Regions from separate parts of the Homo sapiens genome. Here regions 1, 2 and 4 are each linked to region 3. Evidence: promoter capture Hi-C in 16 types of primary human blood cells and fetal thymus (Javierre and others, 2016). All regions are on one chromosome and are shown on one strand. Each heading gives the region's core, a stretch centred on a gene start or on the middle of the fragment in contact. The rest is flanking DNA. Distances are from core to core; before and after follow the strand shown.

What was found. The method cuts DNA at HindIII sites, captures the fragments that hold promoters and counts their contacts. A CHiCAGO score of 5 or more calls a contact.
Region 1: a fragment that was not itself captured here is called in contact with the fragment with the promoter of HNRNPK in region 3 in 7 of 17 cell types (naive CD4 T cells, fetal thymus, naive CD8 T cells and 4 more); the score reaches 11.0 in naive CD4 T cells.
Region 2: a contact is called between a fragment that was not itself captured here and the fragment with the promoter of HNRNPK in region 3, in 1 of 17 cell types (activated CD4 T cells). The highest score is 5.8, in activated CD4 T cells.
Region 4: a fragment that was not itself captured here is called in contact with the fragment with the promoter of HNRNPK in region 3 in 2 of 17 cell types (activated CD4 T cells and total CD4 T cells); the score reaches 5.8 in activated CD4 T cells.

Annotation. Positions count from the first base shown.
Region 1 is chr9:79,561,283-79,568,007 of GRCh38, forward strand. It overlaps LNCARSR (lncRNA regulator of Akt signaling associated with HCC and RCC), which reads right to left and starts at 6,670. Exons shown (of 3, transcript NR_184113.1): 1 at 6,350-6,670. The HindIII fragment of the contact is 808 bases long and covers 5,001-5,808 here.
Region 2 is chr9:79,609,703-79,616,919 of GRCh38, forward strand. TLE4 (TLE family member 4, transcriptional corepressor) reads left to right here. Exons shown (of 20, transcript NM_007005.6): 5 at 2,954-3,016. It overlaps LOC124902329 (a long non-coding RNA gene), which reads left to right and starts at 3,023. Exons shown (of 2, transcript XR_007061903.1): 1 at 3,023-3,842; 2 at 5,374-7,217. RefSeq lists an enhancer at 1-2,140. The HindIII fragment of the contact is 1,783 bases long and covers 1,662-3,444 here.
Region 3 is chr9:83,978,662-83,985,683 of GRCh38, forward strand. It overlaps HNRNPK (heterogeneous nuclear ribonucleoprotein K), which reads right to left and starts at 1,554. Exons shown (of 17, transcript NM_031263.4): 1 at 1,492-1,554. It overlaps RMI1 (RecQ mediated genome instability 1), which reads left to right and starts at 2,144. Exons shown (of 3, transcript NM_001358291.2): 1 at 2,144-2,230. RefSeq lists enhancers at 828-987, 1,808-1,857, 1,817-2,324, 1,898-1,957, 2,088-2,157 and 2 more and silencers at 1,528-1,667, 2,478-2,557. The HindIII fragment of the contact is 2,357 bases long and covers 501-2,857 here.
Region 4 is chr9:79,584,482-79,590,937 of GRCh38, forward strand. All of the region lies in intron 4 of TLE4 (TLE family member 4, transcriptional corepressor), which reads left to right. Among named protein-coding and RNA genes, the nearest start is that of TLE4, 16 kb to the left of the region's middle. The HindIII fragment of the contact is 6,456 bases long and covers 1-5,850 here.

The sequences.
Region 1 (6,725 bases), core at 4,155-6,654, 4.4 Mb before region 3:
GGCACACTCAATAAATGTTAGCTACCAATGGGGTTGATTACAGAACCTAGCTGTGGAATAAATATAAGTCCTTTCCAGGATATAAGAGAGCTTGGTGAGGCAAGATTCATATTAGAGACTTTCCAGTACTCTAAGTCTTTATATTTATAATATCAAAAACAAAATTATACATCCCTTTATATATTTAAATATTCAGTTGAATTACTAGTTAGTACTCTATTTGCCAATTCTTCCTCCCTAAGCTATGACTTTGTATATATTTGGTTTTAATAATTAGTAAAGTTCTAGTTGTGTATGCAGTAGCTTTACAGATAATAAAAATTTAATTAAACTTACTTTGATGCAACTTTGATTATACATTTTCCTAAGCATTGCATAAATAATTCAAAAATGTATGTGACTAACATCCCTCATTCATCAAAAATCTAAAGTTCTCTCAAATTTTCAAAAGCTAAGTGTTAAATGTGGTTGTGTTCAGGTATTTTAAACATCCTGCTCTAGAACTGATAGAAAATGTACAGTTAACCATACTTTTTGCCCAGTACAGTTATTATAGTTTTTTTTTTTTTTTTTCAGATAGAGTCTCCCTCTGTCACCCAGGCTGGAGTGCAGTGGTGCGATCTTGGCTCACTGCAAGCTCTGCCTCCCAGGTTCACGCCATTCTCCTGCCTCAGCCTCCTGAGTAGCTGGGACTACAGGCGTCCACCACCATGCCCGGCTAATTGTTTGTATTTTTAGGAAAGATGGGGTTTCACCATGTTAGCCAGGATGGTCTCCATCTCCTGATCTCATGATCTGCCTGCCTCGGCCTCCCAAAGTGCTGGGATTACAGGTGTAAGCCACCGCACCTGGCCATTATTATAGTTTTTATAGGTTAGAGGAGATCTCTGAATCTAATTTTTACAACATGATTCACATGTTTACTGTTTTCAGAGCAAGTTGTTAGAGAAGGATTGCTGGCCAGCAATGTAAATGTTATAAAAATGTTTCCAAATTTAATTTGCAATAAATATCTGACAATTCATTCACATTTTCAATGTCTTATGAAAATATATTTATATATGAAAATTGCGATCATAATAAATAATTTTCCGAATGATTAATCACATGTTAAAAATTTCAAAGAATATAAGTTCCTCTAAGGATTTAAAAATAAACTGTTTCCTTTCAAGAAAGCATAAGGACCAAATTTCTTAACCTTATAAAGGAAAAAGTTCTTTATTGCTTTTAAGTCCTTGATGAAAGTCATTCCTGGAGATTATAAGATTATTTTCAGAATGACTTTCCTTTTAAAAACTGTAATTTCTCTTTAATTTCTCACTGGAAAAATTATAAAAGGTGCCTCAGTCTGGATTACAAATTGGGAATGGCGAGTTATTTTTGCATTTCTCTCTTTCATATAGATGTTGCAAAAATTAGTCAGATTCAGAAATCTACCCTAAGCTATAAAAACACTACACAGTAGCAGCTGTACGGGGGAAAAGTATGCCAATCATGCTAATCATAGATTTTCTATGAGGTGAGAGTAGATGAGGGAAGGAGAATTGCTAGACTGAATGGTGACTGAGTGGCCTCTGCTACTGAGCATTTCAAAGGGGCAGATATAACCAAGGGATGGGGATGGTTGTTATTCCACTTTCAGTGTGTGCCCGTCTGACTCATTAACTCCCTCCATCCCCCAAAACTTCAGTAAAGGCATTCACACATGGCTTGGGTCACGGTACTTCAGAAGAGTACGGGATGTCCCAAAGGGTAGTCTGGTGTGGAAAATGGACAGATGAGCAGGGGGCATAGAAGGGAGATCAAGCTTTCATCAGAAACAAGAAATGACAGAGAAACAGAGGTACTCCCACAGCAATCCCTGGAGCTACTGAGAAGGATGTTGAACTTCTTATTGTACTTGGGTTGATGGTGAGTCATTCTTGTCTAAAGCTATAAAAACAAGGAATCCAGCAGAGGCTGGAGATGAGGGCATCCATTTCCTGACATATGGGTTATACTGATAACACCTTTCTATACATACACACTTAGATTGTAGAGTTGGTGTGTACCTGTATTGATACATACACACCAACTCTGAGCCAGGCCAGTCACTGTTCTCCGAGTTACAGTTTTCAAATTTTTAAGATGGTCACACCACCACCTGCTCTCCCCATCCAACAAGGTTTTGGAAGGAAGGAAAAGGCATGTGGAAGCACTTTGTAAAGCACAAAGCATAATAATCATTGTAAGGCATTAAAAGGCAGCTCTAGGCTGGGCGCCCTGGCTCTCACCTGTAATCCCAGCACTTTGGGAGGCTGAGGGAGGTGGATCACTTGAGGTCAGGAGTTCTAGACCAGCCTGGTCAACATAGCAAAACCCCGTCTCTATCAAAGATATAAAAGTTAGCCAGGCCTGGTGGTCACGCCTGTAATCCCAGCTACTCAGGTGGCTGAGACACGAAAATTGCTTGAACCTGGGAGGCAGAGGTTGCAGCTGAGATCCCACCATTGCATGCCAGCCTGGGTGACAAAGGGAGACTTTGTCTAAAAAAAAAAAAAAAAAAAAAAAGTCAGCTCTAGTAGAATAGAAAAAAAGTGGAATTTGAAAAGTCAAGTTTGATTCCCAACTTGTTTGCTTTACTACTTGTATAATCTTCAAGAGGCCATTGGTTTCTGTGAACCTAGTTTCCTAGTCTGTAAAATGGGGATTATAATACCCATTCTGCTTCTCTGCTGGTACCTTTACATAGTACCAGAGGTAATAATATGTAACAACACTATGTAAACACTCGGGGTTCATATAAAAATAAGGTATCAAATGGTCTTTCTTGCAGACATATTTAATAAAAACCTATAATAAAAGCATTCAAATTTTGTTCTATATAAAAGCAAGGAGCAGAAGCAGAGGGTGTCCCCATGAATGAAAATTTCTCAGAATATCATTGTCTTTTTGAAAAGTAGTAGTGCACTGGACTAGATATTACACTGTGAATGATGGCTCACTCACACTATTTTACAAGGATTGCTATTAAAGGAAGTCATGTGATTTACCAGAATTGTTCCGGGCTACATAATATTGAGGACAAGTCCTGAATTGAATTATAGCAGTAGGAGCCCACATAGTAGCATTAAGAATATAGTTCCTTACAGTTTAGATCATTTTATGAGACAACTAATCAATTTTCAACAAATGCGTCTGCAGCCACTTTCCCCCAAATAATCTTCATTGCAAGAGATAATTTTTTCAGAAGTATTAAAAAGGGGTAAGGAAAATATAATCAACCTCAGCAGATGATCCTAATTCAAAATCCATTCCATATGACCAACTCTGAGATGATAAAATACAACATTTTTTAGAGCAGCAAATGTTTGCATTTAGGGGAAAGGGGTTTAGAGATCATACTTACCTCCCTTAAGGATAAAACACAACATAGATGAGACCAGAAAGGTTAAAGGGGTTACCCAAAGTTAGCCAGATCATGGTAGACCGTGAATTGACCCCCAGTTCTAATGAAAATAATACTAGACTTTCCAGCCAAGCGTGGTGGCTCATGTCTGTAATACCAGAGCTTTGGGAGGCTGAGGTGGTTAGATGGCTTGAGCTCAGGAGTTAGAGACCAGCATGGGCAACATGGTGAAATCTCATCTCTACCAAAAATACAAAAAATTAGCCAGGTGTGGTGGCCTGCACCTGCAGTCCCAGCTATCTGGGAGGCTGAGATGGGAAAATCGCTTGAGCCAGGGAGGTGGAGGTTGCGGTGAGCTGAGATCACGCCACTGGACTCCAGCCTGAGCAAACAGAGTGAGACCCCATCTCAAAAAATAAATAAATAAAAATAATACTAGACTCTTATGAATTATTTTCTTGTACAAAGCAGTAAGATGTTTACTTACACTTTCCTACACCTACCCCATTCCCGCACCACTCATTTCAGAAAGGAAATGCGCAGATTTTCTCCTGTAATGTCTGCCCTATAGGCTGTTGTGATAGTTAGCAAGAGTGGGAGCCTGTGGAAAGGCACGGCAAGAGCAGCTGCATAGGTGTGAACCCTGCTGTTAGTTGAAAGTAAAAGGACTAGGGCTTCAGCACTGTGCATCTCTTTGGAACTTCCTTACTGAGCCTTCAGACACTCTGAGGTCGGAGGCTGAAGGGAGTGAGCCATGCTTCCTGCAGCCATGGTAATTCTCAGTTTCAGCCTTTGCACAGTGGCAGCTGCAACACAGTCATCTCCCTGATTCACCCTCTGCCCCCATTTTTGCAATAAAACATCTGCTTGAAAAGGAGTAAACCAGGCAGGTGAGTTGGATAGTGCTCAAATTACATACTTTAATTGAATACTCATTTGTGGAATTCAGGTTTATGCAAGGTATTAAATCAGGAGGTAGGAGACAAGAGTTCTGATCTCTGCTTCAGTACTTACAAGCCATATAACCTTGGGCAAGTGACTTATTTCTGAGCCTCAGTTGATTAATCTTTAAAGTGGGGATAATAATATCTTGTTTGCTTAAAGGCAGGGGAATGAAACAGAAGCAGCTGTTAAAGATCCCTTCTAGATTCTAGAAAATTAAAGACAATGTGAGCGTTCCTCAAGTAAGGGAGTCATTTTTAGTAGTGTATTTCTTAGATATGATCTCTGTTATAGAGTATAAATAAGTTCACAGCTCTTTTTAACTATTCAAGACAACTGTTCAGACTAGCAAGAAGTCAGGGTCTCCCTCAGCTCCATTGTTGACATAAGGTGTGCCTATAAAAGTGCTATGCAGCCTTATCTTCCTCACACACTCAGCTATTTATCCCGAAGCACCCCATTAATGCCAGGATGTCTAATCCAAAAGGAGATTTGTATCTTCAATAAAGAGTTATTTCCGAATGAGAAAGATCCATACTTCCTGCCTCTGTATTGCAGCTAGTGAATTTGGGTCACTGGTCCATTCTCCTGTTGACTTCAGCTGCGTTCTAGATAGCCCCTCCCACATACACCACTGTGTCTGCACCATAATCTCCGGGAGGGAAGAGAAAGCTTCAGTGCTCCTTCTTGCCTGCAGACTTAATTAGGGATAATCTCAAAGCATTCAAATAATGTAGCGTTTCAATAAGGACAGTTATTTTGTCCCAGAAGCCTCCTTAGTACCTATGCAAATTTGTCCACTGCACTCCCAAGCCAAGTTCCCTCCCCACAAAAAGGCAACGGGTACCTACATTCCTTTTATCCATCAAGATAAGAAGGGACATCCCAACACAAAGATAGCTTGGCAGTCTTCACCACTAAACATTGAGGCAGCTGGCAACAAACCTCTACCTAACCAGACAAGTTAAGAAATTTGTCACTCTCTTTAGCATTGATGTCCTGAATCTTTTTCAATAATGAGTTTTCTGTCCAGTTCTCTCTATCTTAACATAGATGGGAGGATGGTTTCTGAGCAAGTCAATTGCAGATCTAGAAATGGATGTGCATGTCCTTGATTCTCTATGATCATTGCTGTTCTAGCTATATATTCAATGCAGAGCTTGACATTCAAACTTGCATAGGCATCCTCTTTCCAAATTAAAATGGACCCATCACTCATTAGTGGGGGTGAGGTAGTGGCAGTACCAAAGGATGTGTGTGGGAAGGGCAGCATATGTGCTTCTGTACTCTTTATCAGCTGCCCCCAATTAAAAACAATTGATAATTCTTTAATATGACAAAGGGTACTTTCTTAATCTTAGGTCAAGTATGAACGTGGGCACCTTATACCAAGTTGATATTTGTAATGATCTTGTCACTCCCTGCTTACGAGCCTTTCTCCCTCCACAATGGCTATTATAATCAGAGTAGAAAATGAAAGCTTTTATTAGGCATAAGAAGTTCAATGTGACCAGAACCCAGTGATGTAGCCATGACCTAATCTTATATTACTCTGTGTCTAGCATGTACCAGTCTTTAAAAAATGCTCACATTCACCAACACTTCCTCAAATGAGGCTTTTGAATCCACCTGAAATTTGCTTCTCAGTGATTTTTGCTTTGGCTGACTCTTTCTAGGCATTCAGGCTTCTGCTTAAATGTCACCTCCTCCAAGAAGGCTTCTATGAACTCCCATCTGAACTAGTTCTACTACTCCTGTCACTCCTTCATATTATGCAACTGTTTGTCTATCTCCCCCCATCAGAATGTAAGCTCCAGCAAGAAAGACACTTTGCTTATGTTGTTTACTGTATCAATCGGGATCCGATCAAGAGAGAAAAACAGTAATTTCAACAAGGAAAGTTCAATATAAAAAATTATTACCTATAACAGGGAATTGGATCAAAGGGAGATTGGTAAGAGGTAAAGAGAGCTCTAAATAATACAGAAATAGAGATATAAGGAACAGCTACTTACTAACCCTAGGGCTGAGATACAGCATCTCAAAAAGAGCTCCTCCAAGACACAGACACACTCTTAGGGCTGGCTGAGATCCAGACTTTGCTGGAGAGGGCACAGTTGTAACTTTCTGAATAGCAGGAGAGCCCTGCTAGAATTCTGCCTTCTGGAACTTGCTAGAAATCCACATTCCAGAACTCGTTGGAAATCCATTCTCTGGGGTTCCAAGGAAAGCTGCTGAGGGAGGTGACTCATTAGAGGCACTTGCTCCAAAGCCACCTAAGGGGCTTCTGGAGGAAGCTGCTGGCTGCTGGGTGCTGCTGCTTGCTACCTGTGCTGTAGGAACCTGCCCAGTATGCAACCAGAGCCAGGAACCAGGAAACCAAACCCTTTCCTCC
Region 2 (7,217 bases), core at 1,303-3,802, 4.4 Mb before region 3:
GTTTAGCAGTGTCCATAAAGCATCAAATACCATTATAATATCTAGTAACCCTAACAGCAATATTTCAGAATCCCTGCCTGTTTAAATGGGCTATCTGTGAATGTACTTGCTCAGGGATGCATGACCCACATCACCTATAAATTTGATTGGAAGCTAACAGTACTGGCGTAGCCTGATGGATAGCAGATTAGAGCCCTGATTAACCATGTGATTCAAAGACTGGGAATATATTGTCTAAGCAAGATTCATCAGATGCAATCAGAATTTCAAGTGGTCAGATGAAATTCAAATGTGTGTTGTGGCTTTTCCTCCCCTATTGCTTTTCCTCCTAGGTTGCCTTTTTTTCCTTCTTTCCCCAAAGCTGAAAAATACTTCTTTGATGAATCTGCTCCTTACCCTAAAGCTGTCTGTCTGTTATTCATCAGAAAGCAGGTCGCAGTTCAGTGAGCAGAAGAAAAGATTTTAATAGAAGCTGTGCCAAGGGCTGTAATGCATCATTTTAGGGCCCTAATTACATTACAATGACAAATATCAATGGTGACAACAGCAATAACCTACATCCTTTAATGGCTGTGCTGGAAAAGGAGTTTGGGCCCCACGCCATTATATTAGACTCAGTTTCAAAACATAGGCCATTAGAAGTGTGTGTCCACAGTGTTATTGGCTGATCGCTAAAGCCCAGTGGAAAGGCCTGTAAATAAATGATGCCTCCCTAAAGCTGGGTCCTGTGGGACAAAAGAGGCGAAATTAGATGACCATGGGAGCAGCAGTGTTTCCGAGGCAACTTTAGATTTCAAAGTGAAGAATGACCTGCTTAATTTTATGAAATCACACACACACCCCACCCCCCCACTGCCAATTAGCCTGACCATGAAAATCCATTGGCATGACAACTTAAAGAAATTAAGAAGTCTTTTAAACAAAAGGAGATCTTTAACGGAAGTTTGGAAGGTTTCTGCCCTCCCGTTTCTGTTGTGTGTGTGTTAACCTATGTGATTGAATAAAAAGGCTCTTCTCCTTTTTACATTTATTTTTAAGAAAATGTAGAATTTTTTTAAAAAATAGTTGCTCAGACTTAATACAGCCTAGGTCCAAAATTTTATTTCACCAGATGAATAAGTTTCCTTAGAGTCGTTTTTATTGCCTAGATTATGTAGGCGAACTAAAGAACTCAGTTTTCTTATGTGCCCACACATTTTTCAGCCCTCCTAGCAAGGGACTATTTTATTTATGTAAACAACATAATGACGAAAATATGCTTGGCAGATGGTTCTAAGCATTAGAATCATCAGTTTGGTCTGCCCCAAAGTGTCTCATTATCTTTTATTCTCTCCCCCTCCACCTCTCCCTGCAAAAAGCTTAACAACCAAATGCATTTGAGATGCTGTACTTTCAGCCTGGTGAATGCTACTCTATTTTTATTGCTCACCCTGGAATTTCACCCCATAACCACTGTGGTATGTTCGTCCAGGTGGAGAGTGGTTTGGTGATTCCCATTGCAGCTCTTCATGGTGGCTTAAGCATTCTTAAAGGATGGCTAAATGCTCCATGGGGCCAGTGCAGTAAATTAAATCAGGTCAGCACAGTTGGGTCCTTATTCACTGCAGCTTATTGGTGCTGGGTTTTTGTCCATACTGTTAGGAATGCAGGCTGGAATGGAAAGCTTGGATTTGAAACTTCATGGTGAATTTGTGTTTTCTTTTGGCTGGTAAAGTTTTTAAGGTGCTGGCATTTAAAAGATTGCATAGCTACACAGTTAGAAGGGTTGCTGATGAAAGAAGGAAGCCTAGATTGCACAAGTAGAGTGTCACTGTCATTCTGGTAATGACTTGGCAAGAAAAGGCATTTTGGGCCTCACATAAAATGAGGAACTGACCCTGGATGGAATTTAAGAATGTCTTAGGGATAGTAATTGCTTTACATTTTCTGCCTTTCAATTCTTCTTAGCTCTCTTTCCTCCATTCCATCATTAAAATATAAACTATTTTGTATGTACGTGTATTAAAAAAAACTGTGTATTTATACATCACAAAATATACAAGGCACCATCTGAAAAATACAAATTAAGATAAACATTGGTAAAACTGTGAGTAACTTTTTAAAGAAAACATGTAGTGGTGGTTTTTCTTTTAACTTACTGTAGCATCTTATTGGTTTAAAATGTCTGTACTTATAAAAATTATTAGAGAATAGACTGTTCTTTGACATTGTTGGGACTTTTGCATATCCACAGTAAAAAAAAAAAAAAAAAAAAAAAGTTCCCAAGGATAGTTTCCAGATACATACAGATTGCTTCCTGCTAAGTGTAATAAGATTTTAGCATATCTCAACCTCTGCACACTGAAAACCTTGGTAGGACACATTTGGAAATTTTTATGGTTGAAGAAAACATTTTGTTCTCCAAGAATTTGTAAGAATCCGAATTAGCCAACTTTTTTGGGTTGTTTGGGTGCTGCTGTTTCAGAAGTTTAGGGTCTTGAGTTTAAAATCACAGCACCAATGTTTTTAAAGCAAAGGCCACAAATATAGAAATCCAATGATTTGCTAATTGATGGAGTTGAGATGTAGGAAAGAATGTATCTTTACTTATCTAAATTCTTAAGACTTAGAAGACTGCAGGTTTTATGGAAAACATTAGTATGAGCAAGGGTCCTGGTGAAGGCTGTTGAAAACTGATTTCCAGTCATGGAAATTAAATTCCATTTTATATTGCCCTGATGCTTGAAGGTTAACTTTTTAAGATGAATGCTGGTTAATAAATTGTGCTGTTAATGTGGCACTGTTGTCACTGCTTCCTTTTAATGGGCTTACTGATGAGATAGTTTTCCTCTTCCTTAGGAAATATGCCAGCCAAATTATAAAGTATGTTTTAATATCATCCTGTTAATATTTGGGGAATCTGTAACCAGCTGACTGTTCTCTTTATTGCTTTCCTTTCCCTTATTTTTTGCAGGCAGAGATTGTCAAGAGGCTGAATGCTATCTGTGCACAAGTCATTCCTTTCCTGTCCCAAGAGGTAAGGTAGTTGATTTTAGGCACTGGACTAGAAGTTGCCATTTTAGTGGTTTTGCAGAAAAGGGATTGTAGAACTGACTCTCTGGCCTTGCCAGTCTCTTGGTGTTTGTATTTTATTTTCATTTCTAAGAAACAGTGTTCTCACTCCAACTTGTATACCTTAGTAACTTTCTGTGGGATATAATTTATATGTGTTTACATAATGGAATATTTTCTAGTTGGGCTAAGCAAAATTCAGTCGTTAAAATATTTTGCTATCTTTGTCGTGTTGCTCAGAATTATGCTTGTTTGTCATAATGGTACCTAATAGGGTAGACTGAAAAATTGCCAGGAAAACAGGAGCTTACTCTGTACTATTGTCATTGGGCATTAAGAATTGGCAGAAGACATATCAAATGGAAAGACTTTTTGTAGTAAACAAACTAATGAAGCTTTTGGCTAGCTACTTTTAAACATTTACTTCTTGTTTCCTGATTAAGTCTTTATATTATTGTGCTTTTGGGAAAAGACCTGCAAGATGAACTCATTGAACTCGTTTCTCTGAGTGCCACTTTTCTCAAAATTAGGCTTTGGTGATGGTAGGCTTAGCACATTGCTAAGGCCTGGCATGCGGCTCACTAGTTCTCTTGCTCACCTACAGGGGAAGTGCATGCCATCAGCAAACAGGCACAGGTTGGAATAAAGCGATGCATTTCTAGTGCTTGTTGGCTTCCTTGTGGTTTTTTTTTCTCTCCCTGCTTACTTTTGGTAGTTACAAAGTTGAAGTGAGAATACTGGAAAAAGATAATTTTTTGCTTCTGGATTACTGAATGCCTTCATTTGCTCAGGTAAGATCCACTCTAAGAAGGAAGGAGCTAATGAAATATCTGCATGTCTTGTAGCCGCAATACTTTGTGCTGTGGGCTGAGAAGGCACAGAGGCACTTTTCTTCCTACCCTTTCAGTTGTTCTATAAGTGTGTTGTGTCACTGCTTTTCAGGAGAGAGGTTCATTCACCTGCTTGCCAGCGGGCATGTGCCAATGTTATGTGGCCAATATTTGAGCCTGCATGTGTATTATAGATATGCAGATTGCTGTATATGATTTTTTTCTTTGGTCTGGACTGGGTTAGACTTGAGTAACTATGGGTACCCTTCATAGGTATATACTGGGGAGGGGGCACTCATATTCACAAATCTTGTTGACACTCTGAATTCACATGCTCTTTTGGGTCTTGATAAACAAAGGGTATGTTGTCTTTTCTCCTCCTTTAGCTGTGACCACAAAACCTACCACCAGTCATGTCCCCATTTGCCTGTTTTTACTTAGGATTTGCTTATGGCTAGATTAGATGGCTTGGTGAATGAGAGTCAAGGGGTGTATCTGCATTTCTTTTGGAAACCTGACTGCCCCCTGCCTGATCCAGACTAGTGTGTATTTTTTACTTTAAGCAGCTCTGCTTTATGGAGATGGAGAATGGGAAGAATGTGTGACCTACAGAGCTGTAACCAGGCTGGGGTGTCATGTTCTAAGGTGACAGGGAAAAGTTCGAATTATCCCTGGGGTGGTATTAGACTTTGGGCCTCTGTAGGCACAGACCCCTGTATATGATCGCTGGTATGGCTTTGGTCTCATCACATTTCTGCAGGATCTGTGGGTTGTGTTCAGAAGTAGAAGGTTGTCTTGGGGATGTTGATGAAGCTGATTTGCCAATGAGTTGTTTTCCCACATGAATTATGTTGTTTGTGTGAGCAGGCCCAGTGGGAACAGAATGTATAATGGTAGTGGTGCTGAGCAAGACTGGACTGAAATTAATTGTCTAAGGAAGTTGTACCTGTAGGTGAAAGCCATGGGGAGATACTGACAACTCATTTGCTCTAGTCTGGGAAGAAAGGTGTCATACTTAACTGTTGTCATACCACTTAACTATTTATTTCCCAAATACTTTGACATTTCTTGGTTGAAATCCTTGACTCACGTATAATGATTTATGCCAAGCTTGTGCAACCCCAGGGCCTGTGGGCCACATGTGGCCCAGGATAGCTTTGAAAGTGGCCCAACACAAATTTTAAACTTTCTTAAAACAGTATGAGATTTTTCTTTGCAATTTTTTTTAAGCTCATCAGTTATCGTTAGTGTATTTTATGTGTAGCCCACATAAAATGGGATGTGTGTGTGATTTCTTCTTCCAGTGTGGCCCAGGGAAGCCAAAAGATTGGACACCCGTGATCTATGCCATGGTTTTCTAAATGCTAGTTCTGTGTATATATTTTCTTTTGCTTACTTTAGATTTAATTTACTCATCTTTTTCTAGTTTCCTAAGGTATGTGTGTATCTTTTATTGTGTGAGACACAAACATGTTTGTTTCCTTCAAATCAGGGCATCTCTGATGTTTTTTATCTGAACATCGTCCACCTTGTTTCTTCTTCTGTGCATTCTGTGAGCATTGGACTCCTTGCTTCTGCCCTGAAGCCAGATGGACCATAATCTGGAGGGAGGGGAGGAGCAGGTTAGTAGAGGAAGATGAATTCTGTTTCCTGTCTCTTCAGAGGCATGGAAAATCACTCTTGCATGGCTGTGAGCATCACTGTGCCAGGACTGAAGGCTCTTAATCTGATCTTTTAACACCGGCTCTCTGTGTGACAGTCTCGCTACCAAAACGGCAGCTGCTGCATTAGAATTTATTTTAAAATGTTTTTATTTAAAAATTAAATGATCGTATTTAGGAAAAAGCAAAACAATTCCTGAAGAGTAGTGCATAAGCTAACAGAACATTGGCTGGAGCGATTGTGAGCATCTGAAGTCAGGCTTTTTGGAGTTTGACAGGAACAAGGGGTATATTTACATACTGTTAGATGAAGTCTCTTTTTAATTTAGCCCCCATGTGTTGATTAATATACCTGCTTAATATTGCTTGCGTCTGGTTTACCGCATTTTTTTAAACTTAAAAAAACTATATAGTACTGAATGATAACTATTAAATTTAGCTTTAACTTCAAGACTTTTTCTTTTTAGAAATGAGTTGTATAATTGTGTTCAGAAGTACTTGAAGTGTGTCTGTATATGAAAATCACAGAAAAATATTTTCCTATTAGAGTTTACTAAAACATTTAAAAATATTAAAGCCAATATATACTTTAATAATGTGCTGTTGCACTCACGTACAACTGCTTCCAGCGTTACAGGCATTTGACAAAGATATTGCCAACTCTTGTCATTAAAAGTGAGTACTCATCACTTGGAGTTCATAGAATTTCACAGGATTCTCAATATCAGAATTTAGAAAAACCTTGTGAACCCTCATCTGTCCCAAGCTGTTCTTTTCTCTCACTTCACTTTTTAGCTTTTAGGAATGGATAAGACTCAAATTTATTCTTCAAAAAGCCATCTCAAGGTGGTAAACGGGAAGCTCTTTTCTTTCCCTATTTCGGTCTCATTTGCAGGGGAAGAACTATAAATATCAACTCTGAGTTGGCAGTTCCATAAACAAGAGATGCCAGGATGATGACAGTTGGATCTGGGTCCTGGCCTCCCTATTACAAATCGTGTGGTTTACTCTAACTGGGCTAAGCTGGGTGACCTTTAGCAAGTGATGTGCCTCTCTAAGCCTCAGTTTCCTCATCTGTATGATGAAGTTAATCATAGCGTGAAACACATCCAATGTCTGTGAAGATTACTTGGGATTATACCCAGGTAGCTTAGCACACAATAAGCACCTACTGCCGTTGACTAGTGGGATTAACTACAGTAGCAGCAGTGGAGCTCTGTCTCCTCTTGGGAGGAGCTAGAACCAGCCCTCCCTCCCTTTTCTAATCATTGCATTTGGGAAGAATGTGAATTGATTATCTTCCTCTCTAATGTCCTTATAGAAGAAAAAATGAAAATTAAAAGTGAACCCAGGGCCTTGAACTAGCTAAAAATCTATGTTTTTGTTTCCATTGGCAATTTTGGGATATGGCTTATAGACCCTTAGACCTCAGTGGGTCCTTAGTAAAACTGAGGATTGCCAATAAATATTGTATTGCTTCCAGTATCCCAGTAACAACTCCTCCTCCATCCCCCAATTCCAGGAACATATCTATGTAGAGAGTCTAAGGTGGACCTAAAACTCTACATCACTGTTACACCCTGGCAGTAAGGGACAGCATTTCTGCTAATTTAGAATTGGGCTAGCTCTCCCTCTTCACTAGCTTTGCATTGCAAAGTTGATCTCTCTAAGCCTT
Region 3 (7,022 bases), core at 304-2,803:
TAACTTTTAGCCACTGGATTAAGTCCCACCACAGCAATGAATTGTTTTATACGGCACATTCCCAAAACCCTGAAAAGATAAATGTCATCCACAAAGCATACATTTATGAAAAGTTACAATGCATCTTATTCACTGGGAAAACTAATTTTATATTAAAACTTCCAATTGCTTTCCTATTTCTTTCGACTCATGCTTGAAGCGATCTTATGTGACATCTCTAAAGTTTACAAATACAACGGCAATTGCGAACACATCCAACAACCAGAACAATCTACCGGAGGGATAAATCCAAAAATCTAATATAGGACCAGACCCAAACTACCACAATACCAGTCTATTATTAATCAGCGAAACAAATGGAGCCCTTGAAAACTAACAGTCACTAGCGGATTATTTTAAATTAGGCTTAAGGGAGTACAACACAACAATCATGCCTGTAACACGAAAACTAAAGTGTCTACGTGCCAAAACGGTCGATAGGACTACAAACAGCCTTTTTAAGCTTCCCTCTTGTCGGGACTAGGAGTTGACAAGCGGCCTCTACTAGAAGGTTGGCTAGACAGCAAAGAGCCAACAAGCGAGGCACATTTATGCCTCCCATTCTCCCATACCGTTGGTCGACTTATTGCTCTCCTAACGACAACTGAAACGACATCCTTCCGGCCCAGCACGCAATTTCTGAGGTGTGGTGGGAGAAGAGTTGGATAAGAAAGTTTAAGCAAAAACAGCAGGGCTTATCTGTAAGAATAACGTTGCCGCTTGCCGTTCACCCTTCGGGTCCTGCAGTCACTAGTCCCCAGGCCTCAAAAATCCGCTAAGTATGTGCTCCACTGGCCGAGCGCCAACGCGCCCTCCCCTCCCCGCCTCCCGGCACCGAGATCAAAAACAGCCGGGTAACAGGACGGGAAAAAGCGAAAGTCGACAGCAGAAGCACCGCACCTCTCCTCACCCGGATCCGACAGGAAATGGCGGCCCGCGTAATGGCGACTACGTGCTACTAGGCGGAGCCGAGCGCCGACCCCCTCCCCCACCCACCACGCGGTCCCGAGGTCTCATCCCCCGCATCCTCCCCCCACTGCCCGAGACAAAGCCATCGAGGCAGCCCTGACCGTTCCATCCCCGCCGCTCCAGCTCCGACCCCGGGCCGGGAGACCCAAGGTGAGGCGGGGCTCACACAAAGAGAGCGGCGGCGCGACCTTCTCCCCGCACCGGCCTCCTTTCCTCCACGAGGTCCCTAGTTCCCAGTGCCACATAGCTCCAGCTCATCCTAGAGGCACATGCCTCACGAATCCCCAAGTCTCTAGGACCACAACGCGGACTGCGGATACACGCTCAGGGAAATGGCGGAGGTGGGGGAGGGGACACCGGGCAACGTTCCCACTCGGAGAAGCGGCCAAACACCAAAGCGGCTCCCAGGACGCCTCCCTCAAGCGGAAAAACTGGGCTCCGACCCTCACCTCCACGAGCCGCTCCCCCAACCCGGCTCCTCACCGCGCGAGACTGCCGTCCCTCCGCTGCCGCGCCGCCTCAGCCGGTCGGAGCTAGACAGAAAACGAGCGCAGGCTCCCCTCCCCCGCCTTCTCGCGTCCTCCCCGCCGTCGCGCCCTATTGGCTGCCAGGGCTTCAGCGATGGTGCGAGGGCGAAGCGATTGGCCCGAGGCCACGTCAATCAAGGCGACGGAGGAGGCGACAACCCCGCCTCCCGCCAGCGCCTCCCTTCGGGCTGGGAGGCCACTAAGGGCTCGAGAAAACCCGGGCTTGGGAAAAGTAAACGCAGCCTTTCAGGGAGCCCCAACCCTTACCCGAATCAGCAATACCCAAGCTCCAATAACTCCAATTACCTATAGGCCGCGAACAAGTGGGACACAGGCAAGACGTCGAGGTCGGTGCAGCAGAGAAACAGAGGATAATGGCGTCTGCAGTGCTGTCGCCTGGAGCGCCCTCCTCCTTTCTCGTTCGCGCACTCACTAGCTGGGGGGAGGGGCGGCTAGGGGGCGAACCTCTCGCGAGATCTAACAACTGCCTAGTTCACGCGCACAGGGAGGGGGCGGGGAAGGGGCGTTTTCCAGCCCCGAAGGAGTCCTTTGGGGTTGGAGGAGGGGCGCGAGCGCGCGGCAAATCGGGCGGGAAGAGGTAAAAAAGGAACTGGGAGCGCGCCGCGGCGGTTCCTGTCCTTACAGTTGCGCTGCCCAGGGACCGATGTTGCGCGAGGAAAATGCGGGACGCCCAGGTCGGTGCTCGGCCCAGACTTATGCCCGTGTTTTCACAGCCCACACTCGTGCCCGAAGCCCCTTACCCCGCCCCGGGCTGTGGTCTGTGGGCTGTGGGACGAGCTGCGGCGCGGTAAGTGCGGGCCGTCTGCGTCCGCTGGGCCGGGCCCACGCTTCGGAAACCCGTTGTTTGTAATGGTCCGGGGCGCCCGTCAGTCAAGGCCGGGCCCGGGGGCGCAGCTGGCGGTTCTCGGCCTGCCTTGCGCCGGGGCGGGAGCCGGGGAAACGCGGGGCGAGCCTGGGAGTACTGGAGAACTTCTCGCCGAGAGGGCACAGGCGGTTTCACAGGGCTCTCGGTTCTGAGACTTTCCTCTTGGGTAATGGGACCTGAGATGGAAGTATTTTGTAGTGTCGTCGCTGTAGTTTATTCCGATAAAATTTTTAGGCAATATGTATTGCCCTTGTCTCCTAAAATGAATGCGTATCGCTGAATACGTTGCAGACCTCCACGTTCCATTCAAAGCGCCTGCCTTGTGGCAGTGATGAAAACAGACAAAAACCCTTGCCCTCAAACGTGCTCCTGTTCTAGCGGGTTCAGCGCACACTTGCATTGTATTCGGTTCCTTACTTTTAAGGCTCCTGTGCCAAGCTTTCATGACTTCCTTTGTTAAGGCACATAAGGTCACTTTCAATCGGTGACAGCCCTGGGAAATCTCCAGCCCTGGTAGTACCCGCTTTCCACATCCTTACTCGTCAACCTTCCAGCCTCCGCCCACAATCCCAAACTCATTTTGAAGCATAAAGGTGTCATAATCTGCACATAAAGCGAAATCCACCATTGGCCGAATACATGCATATATTTTAGTGTTGATGAATTTGTGCTGATTCATTCCTGTTATAATGTTTCCTTCTTGGGTAATTTGCAAAACATATATACCAGCATTCTTTTAAATGGCCATGATTGCATCCACCCAGCATCTTTTACTTGACTGATTAGAGGAAAACTCTTGTTAGGGCGCACTGAGGATTTCATGACAAACACCAGTATTTACATTCTGGGAGGATACGTTAACACATGCTGTTAGAACATAATGTCCGGGATTGTGGAATTTATAAAAGTTCTCTTTAAGTGATAATATAATTTTTTAAATGGTCCCCACCATGAAGAGTGTATAGTCTTGTTGGGTAGGTAAAACTTAACTCGCATTTCAGTTCTAAAACACAAAGTTCAGAATTTTATTAAATATTCAAAACTGATGAGTTTATGTAGGGGCTTAGGATACTTGGATTATAGAGATTTAATCCGCCAGTTAGTATTTGCAACATTTAATTGAGTTTGTCATTTAAAACCTGAGACATGTCACTGACACTAATATGCACAAATAGCGGTACGGTAATGATGATGCTGTGCTTTCTTTCAAATTAGGATTTATGTTGCAGTCATCATTTTCTTGATAAGGAATGATGAGTGGGAATCACAAGTAAGCAGCCCTATATAAGAACCTCTTCCGGCCGGGCACGGTGGCTCACGCCTGTAATCCCAGCACTTTGGGAGGCCGAGGCGGGCGGACCACAAGGTCAGGAGATCGAGACCATCCTGGCTAACATTGTGAAACCCCGTCTCTACTAAAAAGACAAAAAAAAAAATTAGCCGGGTGTGGTTGCAGGAGCCTGTAGTCCCAGCTACTCAGGAGGCCGAGGCAGGAGAATGGCGTGAACCCGGAAGGCTGATCTTGCAGTGAGCCGAGATCGCGCCACTGCACTCCAGCCTGGGCGACAGAGCGAGACCCTGTCTCAAAAACAAAAACAAAAACAAAAAAAAAAACCTCTTCCTCCCAGTTTCATTGTCCAGACTGGACCCCGACTGGTGTAAATTATTCATCCCCTCTAGATGCCATTGTGGGATGGTTGCTATTTTTCCCCCCATTTGATTTCTTCTTTACGTCTTTTTAATTTTTAGGTTTGCTCTTTAAATAACAGGAAAGTCTTTTTTCTCCATCCTTTTATTCTCTGTTTGAAATTAAGACTTTTCAACCCAATAATTTTATACCTGTGTTCATTCAAGAACTTAACAATACATTCATTGACTCCAGTCTTGTGTAATTGGTACAATGGTGTAATGGTGTAGTGATCACTTTGGACTCAGTGAATTTAGACCCAATATTACTTAGATGGGGGATTTACTTTAGATGGGCTAATATAATTGAGAATGTACACTATCCAGCTGCATTATTGTTTAAAATAGTATTTATAACTACTATTTCCTGAGTTCCCCACTGTGTGCTAAACGTTGTGCTGGCAGTTTAATACTTTTTAGAGTTCTTTGAGCAAGTTGTTAGTTATCTTTGTTTTGTGAACGAATGAACTAGCACTAAGAGAAGCTAAGGAACATATCCAAGGTCACATAGCAAAATGGGGTTCCAGATTCTCTTTCTGTCTTTTCCTTACTTTAGGTTATGGAGGATCCATAAAAATCTCCTCTGATTACTTCTTCTAATTTCAGTCATATACGGTATAAATTTTTCCTCCCTAATTTTCGGAGTATCTTCTCAAAAATTCCAGGATTACCTTGAACTCATCCTCAATGAATTAAAATGTAGACTTACCTTTATTGTTTAGATGAAGATAATGGAACTGTGGAGTAGATTTAAATATTCGTTAGTGCTTTTAAGTCTCAGCTATTGTCAGAATGACACACGTAAGGTCCAAAAGGATGACACTCCTGCCTCGCTTTTTATTAAAAAAAAATTGGAATATATGAGGCTGACTGAAAATTAATCTGTAAATCAAATATGCCTAGACCTTCGTGGTAGGTGATAAAATTTTCCCACTTTATTTTCTTTTGTTCAGTTCCTGGCAGTACAGATCTAGAATGCAGATTAGTGTGGTCAGCCAAGTTTATCATTCATACAATGCTAATCAGCTTTCTTAAAAATGTTTTTTCCTGATTATAAAATTAATGGGGATTAAGCTGTATGTAATTTTATATGTGTTCTTTTTCCCAACAAAATGTGAATGTATTTCTTTGTCATTAAATAATTCTTAAAAATGGTTTCTTTAAAGATTTCATAGCTTTTCATTTCATGGTGGTAGTGCTATGTATTTAACTTTTTTTCCCATTTTGAACATTTTGTTTTTTTCAAAATATAAAAACTCAGTGGTAAACTCTCTGCCACATAAATCTTTGTCTTTATTTATTTTGTTACTTATTGATGCATAAAAGATGTACATAGTTTTGGGGTATATGTGATAATTTAATATATTCACTTAATTTGTAAAGATCAAATCACAGTACCGGGGATATTATCTCCTTAAATATATGGCTTTTCTTTGTCCTTATTTATGATTATGTCCTTAATTCTGGAAAGTAAAAGAAGTGGATAATATGGTATGAACATACCTTTTTTTTTTTTTTGAGACTGAGTTTCGTTCTTGTTGCCTATGCTGGAGTGCAGTGGCGCAATCTCGGCTCACTGCAACCTCTGCTTCCTGGGTTCAAACGATTCTCCTGCCTCAGCCTCCCGAGTAGCTGGGATTACAGGCATGTGCTACCAAGCTCGGCTAATTTTTTTGTATTTTTAGTAGAGATGGGGTTTCTCCATGTTGGTCAGGCTGGTCTGGATCTCCTGACCTCAGGTGATCCACCCGCCTTGGCCTACCAAAGTGCTGGGATTACCAGTTTTGAACATCTTTTTTTCTTTTCTTTTGAGACAAAGTTTCGTTCTTGTTGCCCAGGCTGTAGTGCAATGGCACAATCTCGGCTCACTGCAACCTCTGCCTCCTTGGTTCAAACGATTCTTCTGTCTCAGCCTCCCTAGTAGCTGGGATTACAGGCATGCGCCACCAGGCTCAGCTAATTTTTTTGTATTTTTAGTAGAGACGGGCTTCTCCATGTTGGTCAGGCTGGTCTTGAACTCCTGACCTCAGGTGATCCACCTGCCTCAGCCTCCCAAAGTGCTGGAATTACAGCTGTGAGCCACCGCACCCAGCCCGAACATATCTTACTGTATAATTTAAAAGACAGTTTTCCAAATTTATTATTATTTTCTTGGACAGTGGAGTTCTTTAGGATCAGGAGCTGTTCTTTGCACATGGGAATTTGTGCTGCCCTTGCTAACCTCTGCCTCTGAGCTGCTTCTACCTGCTTGTGACTATGGTTACCCAATTTCCTAAGCAAAGAAGGGATGAAAACCTTAGGAATTATCTGAAGGACTAGATGCCATTAATATAATTTACCAAATTATTAAAGGTCTCAATTATTAATATCCAGTCTAAACTTTATAATATAGATCTTACATAATATTTTTCCATTTGATTAAACATTTTAATAAGCTTCTCTTTCTAATCTGTAGGAAAAATAACCTATTACACATCATCTTTTTATTATAATTAAGACATGCAGTTGTAGGAATTATATCTGTATCCTAGATCAATCCTACTTTCTACTTTGTTGTTAAGTGATGAAATCTGTGTAACAGATGTATGTTAGCAGTTATTTTATTTCCCCTAAAGTTCTTGACTTTTTGGTAAAATATTTGAGAATAGTTGTATTGGAATGCTTGTACAGTGTTAAGTATCTCTTATCACATTTGCTTGTGTTTTACAGGTGTCTTGGTTATCTTTTGGGTGTTTAGTCAATGGAATTTTTTTCTTTGCCCAGTTATGATAACATTACTGTAAATTCATAGTATGTCAGCTTCAGAAGTTGAGAGTGGTTCTTAGAGTTATTAATTAGGACTGACACATTTAATGGAACAGTTTAGTTGTTGGGGTTCACTGAGCAGTGTTTTTCAGAATTCATCCCAACTCTTG
Region 4 (6,456 bases), core at 1,373-3,872, 4.4 Mb before region 3:
ACCTGTTTATTTCCTGTCTCTCTCTCGTGCTAGATTGTAAGCTCCATGAAAACAGGAGCTTTTATTGTTTACTGCTGTGTACCCGGTGTTGAGCCCTGTGCCTATCGCATAGTAGATGCTGGTGCGCAATAAAATATTTGGTGAATGAGAGAATAGCAGTTAGAGCTAGCCAAGAATATGTGTGATTTAATATTTTTAAGGGTATATTAGGTTGCAAGATAGATAACAAATACTGAATCTCAGGCATACTTAGGTCTGTGTTGTCTACTAGTTTGTGGAAAAGTGACACTTGGAAAGAGGAAGCAAAAGCAACCGAACTTGCTGTGCCTTTGAGGAACAAGTTAGTATAGCTAAAGTAGAATGTATGTATTTTAGTATGTTGAGTCTGCCTTTTTAAAGATGAAAACATGAATCATTCCAAACAGAATTTAAAATTCAGTTTGAACGTCACTGTATCACTAGTCAGTGTTTATCTGAATAATTCTTTTACTATTAATAGGTCTGTGTACCTGTGGTTTGAATGAATGTGGAGCAATATCGATCTTGACTATATTGTGTGTTTAGCTAACTTCCCTGCAAATCAGTAAAAAATGCAAGGTTTTAGTTCTTTTCAAGGGACAAGGAATTTTGAAAATGTCTTAATTTTTTTTATTAGTAGAGATAGTATAACGTTGTTGAAAGAATAGTAATCATAACAGTAAGCAATTTTAGATTGCTTATAGTGTCGATAATATTTCACTTATTCTTACAACAATCTTATGAGATTATAGTAGTAGTATTATTTCCATTTTACGTATGTTGGGGCTGAGACACAGAGAGCTTAAATAGCTTGCTTGAAATCAGCTAGCCGGTAAAATAGATCTTGGGTTTGACTCAAGGTCAGAACGCTGGTATGACAGATATTTCTGCCTTATTCCAGTTGATATGTTTGGAATACTCCACCATCAGCATACTTACTACCTTCCCCCAAATGCTTGACTGATTCCGGAGCCTCAGATTCTAGTTCTGGCCTTGCTAGTCACCAGCTTTGTGATATTGCTGAGTACCGTACCTTTAAGGGCCATGCTTTTCTCATCTTTAACTTAGGGCGTAAGTGAACGCCCAGATCTCTTTTAGCTCTTTTGGTTAAAATGACCATTTCAGTTTGGTTTGTTGCTGTGATCCAGTGAACAGAAATTGAATTTTTTTTTTTCAGTCTTAGAAAGTCTCTTTTAGCACTTATTTTCAGAATTTTTAAAATCCAAAGTTACCCAATGTGCCTAGGAGTAGAAATGTATATTTATATACTATTAATACTTTATTTTTTATAAGGTACTTTCTCATCCTTTTTTTTCATGTAAACCCCAATAATAAAGCATTCCCCCCGTCCTGTGGATGAACACAGTGAGACGCAGATGTTAGATGACAAAGTTCTTCACTTAATTAGTAGGTGGTTTACAATTCACTGATTCTCTTATGGCCAGCGTTCAGGCTAAAGTAATGTTGACACAGAAGTAGAGCAATTTTCATAAAACATGTAATATAAAAGTATATATAACATAAAATATATCAGTATGTCTTTAAAGTGATTAGTTTTTGTACTTTTCCTTTGGCATATATTAGAAAACTTAGGCTGGGCACGTGGCTTACGCCTGTAATCCCAGCACTTTGGGAGGCTGAGGTGGGTGGATCATGAGGTCAGGAGATCGAGACTGTCCTGGCCAATGTGGTGAAACGCTGTCTCTACTAAAAATTAACTGGGCGTGGTGGCGCATGACTGTAATCCCAGCTACTCGGGGGGCTGAGGCAGGAGAATCACTTGAACCAGGGAGTCAGAAGTTGCGGTGAGCCAAGATCGCGCCACTGCACTCCAGCCTGACGTCAGAGCAAGACTCTGTCACAAAAAAAAAAAAAGAAAAGAAAATTGTGTGACTTCTGAAATTGTATGAATTATAAAGTGATCCAATAATTTTCTTCCAAAGATGTGCAAAGGGACTATGTAGCAGTTTATTACCTGTTGTGTAATTAGCTCCGGGGGTTACTCTTCTAGAATCTAAGGTAGGTGTCAGTTTCTCTAGCTTGAGGTAAAGCGTGTCTGTAAACTGTGGCTTACAGTGAGCTTGACATCTCAAGTCCTCAGGACTTTCTTGCTTTGTCCCATCAAGGACCCTTTCCTTAGGGAAGATAAATTCATTGTAAATAAATGACTTAATCATAAGTAGAAGAAGGGAGAAATGTTTAATCTTGGCCTTTTGGAGTTTATAAATCAAAGACACAGTAGAGATCAAGTTCCTTCATTAAAGTGTAGTTCCAAAAAGGAAGAATGTGGTTTTGGTTTTAAAAAATTTTTTTATTTTTAATTTTTAAGAGTACATAGTAGGTGTATGTATTTATGGGGTAAATGAACTATTTTGATACCGGCATATAGCATATAATAATCACATTCGGGTAAATGGACTACCCATCAACTCAAGCATTTCCCTTTTTTTGTGTGGGTTAGAAACTTTCTAGTTATACTCTTTTAGTTACTTTTAAATGTACAATAAATTATTGTTGACTGTAGTCACTCTGTTATGCTATCAAACACTATACCTTATTCATTCTGACTATATTTTTGTTTACAGAAGAATATGTTTTGTTCACTGCTGGTACCACTAGCACCTAAAACAATGCCTGGAATATAGTAGAAGAAATGAATGAATGAATGATGGAACAGCTAAAGGAGTGGTTTAATTTTTTCATTTTATTGCATTTCATGTAGCATCACATATTCTGAGTATCAGCCACCTTTATATAAGCTGTCTTCGTTTCTGAGTGCTTAGGGAGGGCCTGGCTTTATGCTGAGCAAAAAAGGCCTAGATAGGCAATCAGAGAGTGGGAGTTCTTATCTCAGTCTGCTACAGGTCCTTGAGCTGCTGATTGGCATTTTTAAAATTTAGAATTGGATTCATACTTTGCCAGATGATTTATTTCTAAGATATCTTTCAACTCTTAACATCATATGATGTTTAAATGACCAGCTTAAAAATAAAATTCATCCCTACTTCCATTGCTCGGTACTATAGGCATGCCATTTTAGTAAGTTAAGTTTTAAGATAATTTTTATAAGAGGAAATACAGCCAGGTTTTTTTTTGTTTTTGTGTTTGTATTTTTGTAGAATCTCACTTTGAGCAATGTTAGGCTATTGTGTGGACAGCTAAAACAATCCTAATATTGCCAGTGTTTCACAACCTAGAACCATCTGCTGTGTTGCTTTTTTTGCAGTTGTAGCTGCATCTTCCTGGTCCTTCTATAGGCTAAGAGCACATCAGTAAGTACATATAGTTAACAGATTTTTCATATGTATATCTTGGGCAAGTGTTAGTGATAATAAGAGCAGTTAAAATTTATCGAGTGCCCACTGGATACCAGGTAAAGCACTAAATGCTTCAGATGTATTAATTTGTTTAATTTGTAATCTTTTGAGGAAGGGATCTGATTATCCTTATTGTGTATGAGGAAACTAAGGTAAAGAGAAGCTGAGAAATTTGCCCAGGGTTATATATAGCTGGTAGGTTACAGAGTAGGGGTGTCAAGGCCAGGCATTCTGGCTTGAGAACCTACATTCTGGTTTTGAACCACTGGCAATAAATGTCTCATAAGTGACTATGGTAAACTTCTTTGTTTATCCTTGCGTGTGTGTGTGTGTGTGTGTGTGTGTGTTTTGAGATAGAGTCTCGCCCTGTTGCCAGGCTGGAGTGCGGTGGCGTGATCTCGGCTCATTGTGATCTCCGCCTCCTGGGTTCAAGTGATTCTCCTGCCTGAGCCTCCTGAGTAGCTGGGATTACAGGCCCACACCACCACTCGCAGCTAACTTTTTTGTATTTTTAGTAGAGACGGGGTTTCACCATGTTGGCCAGGATGGGCTTGATCTCTTGGCCTCGTGATCCCACCCACCTCGGCCTCCCAAAATGCTGGGATTACAGGTGTGAGCCACCGCGCCCGGCCTATCCTTGTTTTCTAAATGAAAAAACAAATCGTCTGCTTCTGTGTTCTGTACACAGTGAGCTTAAATGTTAAAAATAATAGCTGGTATCATTTGGGTATTTTGTTTTGCAAATTAACACACTAGATTAGTGGACTCATTCATTGGTTCATCTTTTATCACAGATTCTACTGTTTGTCCGTGGCTGGATAACCACAGGCCTCTAGATATTTTTGTACCTCTGACTGTGAGATTTCTAAAACAGGCATGGCACCTTCTTTTATAACCACGTGTCACATGGGAATGTTCAGGGAACTGTAAACTTTTGAGTGCCTGCCTGGGGTGGAGGAGAGATGGAGGTTCTTGGCTGGGTTTGAAAGGTTCTATATAGTTCTGGAATTTATATGCATAATTGTGTACCTTTTTTGTGGGGGCAGAATCCATAGCCCTTACTGGTTCAATGAGGAAACTGGAACCCAAACAAAAGAATTAGGGAGGTACTGTGCTAGAGCAGTGGTTGCAAACTGGAGCAGTTCCTTTCCTCAGAGGATGTCTGGCAATGTGATGATATTTGGGGTTGTCACAACTTGGAGTTGCTACTGGCATGTAGTGGGTAGAGTCTGGGATGCTGCTGAACATCTGCATGTACAGGACAGCCCTCTACAACAAAGACTTAGCTGGCCTAGAATTTCAGTAGTGCCAACACTCAGAAACTCTGCTCCAGAGAGAAGAAAATACTATTAAATTCTGTTGCCTTTTTATGGCCCGGAGAGTTATAGGTTTGGGGCATAATGACCTCTTTGAGTAGAGAAAGGCCAAGTATGAGCATTGTCTGGCTTCTCTAGTTAAGTCAATTTGAGAGAATCCTTTAAACGTACTTAACCTTTTCAGGTTTTTTCCTCCCTTTCCCATGATGATAAGCAGAGTGGGGTTGGTGGTAGTTAAGTTCTGAATAGAGATATTACATGATCCTTTGTAATCTTCCTTTTCCTAAAGAAGGGACCGTGATAAACCTTCTCGGTGGGAGGGACTTTTCACACTTAAGTTCAGCTTCTCACTGGAAATCAGCTTGATTTCCACTGAAAACATCCAGATCTTTGTGGTGCTACTACTGCGCAAGGCAGAAGACATTTTCAGTGGAGGTATTGGATTGGCAGAAATTTCTTTATGTGAGACCCATTAGTCCTGTCCCCCATCGAAGTCACTAGAATTAGTCTTACTCCTTGTCTAGGTTTTTCAGAAGTGTTGCCCTTTATTAGCCTTCCTTTGTCCATGCTGGGCATTCTCAGTCATTTTAACCATTCTCCTGAGACACCAGTCTGGTTGGTACCAAGATGTATATGATAGACCGGGCTGCCTGAGAATTCAACGTGACGTTTCTGGCCTGATTCTACCCAACTGAGGCATTAGGGCAGATCTTATTGCAAAGTAGCCCTTCTGCTCTTTCTCTTTAGGGCAAAGTACATTATATTTGTCTTTGTCATGTCCTGATCACACTGTAATACACAAAATGGAACCTTGAGTTTTGTAAGTAACCTGAGTCCACAATATGGGTTCGTTTTTATTTTTGAATGTGTGGGCGCTGATCAGTGAACCTGTTTTACTTGGACTTCTTTTCCCCCAACAAATTTCACTATGCTGCGCTATGAATGTGGGTGGCTGTTTTAAAGGCTTTTGATTTTGCGGGGGACAGAGAACTGTTTGGAAATGTGGTTTTACCTCTGGCTAGCTTGGTTAACCCCCCCAAAATATAGTCAACCTAAAGTGGCTAGTGAAAAAACAATAGCAGTTCTGTAGCTGCTTGTTTGCTTGAACATTTTTTGGGTGAGCTAGGGGAAGACAAAACACTTGTTTGGGCTTCTTAATGAAGAAATTGTGTCCCCAAAATTCCAATGTGTGCTTCTTAAGCTTCCACTCTTCTCTAGGTTCTGGGCATGGGGAGGTAAACTTTGGCACCCCTACTTGCTTGTAAGTTTTCTCTTTACATTTCAGAGGTGTCAGATTTAGGAGAGGCTGCTTGTAAGTTTTCTCCTTATATTTCAGAGGTGTCAGATTTAGGAGAGGCTGCGGCAGGCAAAGTACATTATGTACAAAAACCTTCCTTTTGTAATATGGGAGCTCATTTCCAAAGGCTCCATATGGCTAGCCTAGGAGGCTCATAGTAAAGACCTGCTTTAGTTGTAAGCAGAGCTGATAGGAGGGTTTTTTTATAATCTAAGCAATAATTTTTAGGTTATTTTGCATCAGTTTAGGATGCACACTTGTGAGGTGGTATTTATGCCTTCTTCCCAGATTAGATTTACAAATCCCACTTTCTTAAGATACTTGATTTTACATTTTGAATCATGCTTTTTTGCCACTTTCTTTCTGTTTGAGGCTCACCGTGCAAATTAACTTTCTAAACTGAAATATTTAGCTTCTCAAATGGAAATACCTGGAACTGGATTTATTATAAAGGTTAAGAAGATTATAACCTAAATACTTAAACATGAAAAAAGTAACTTAATCTTCA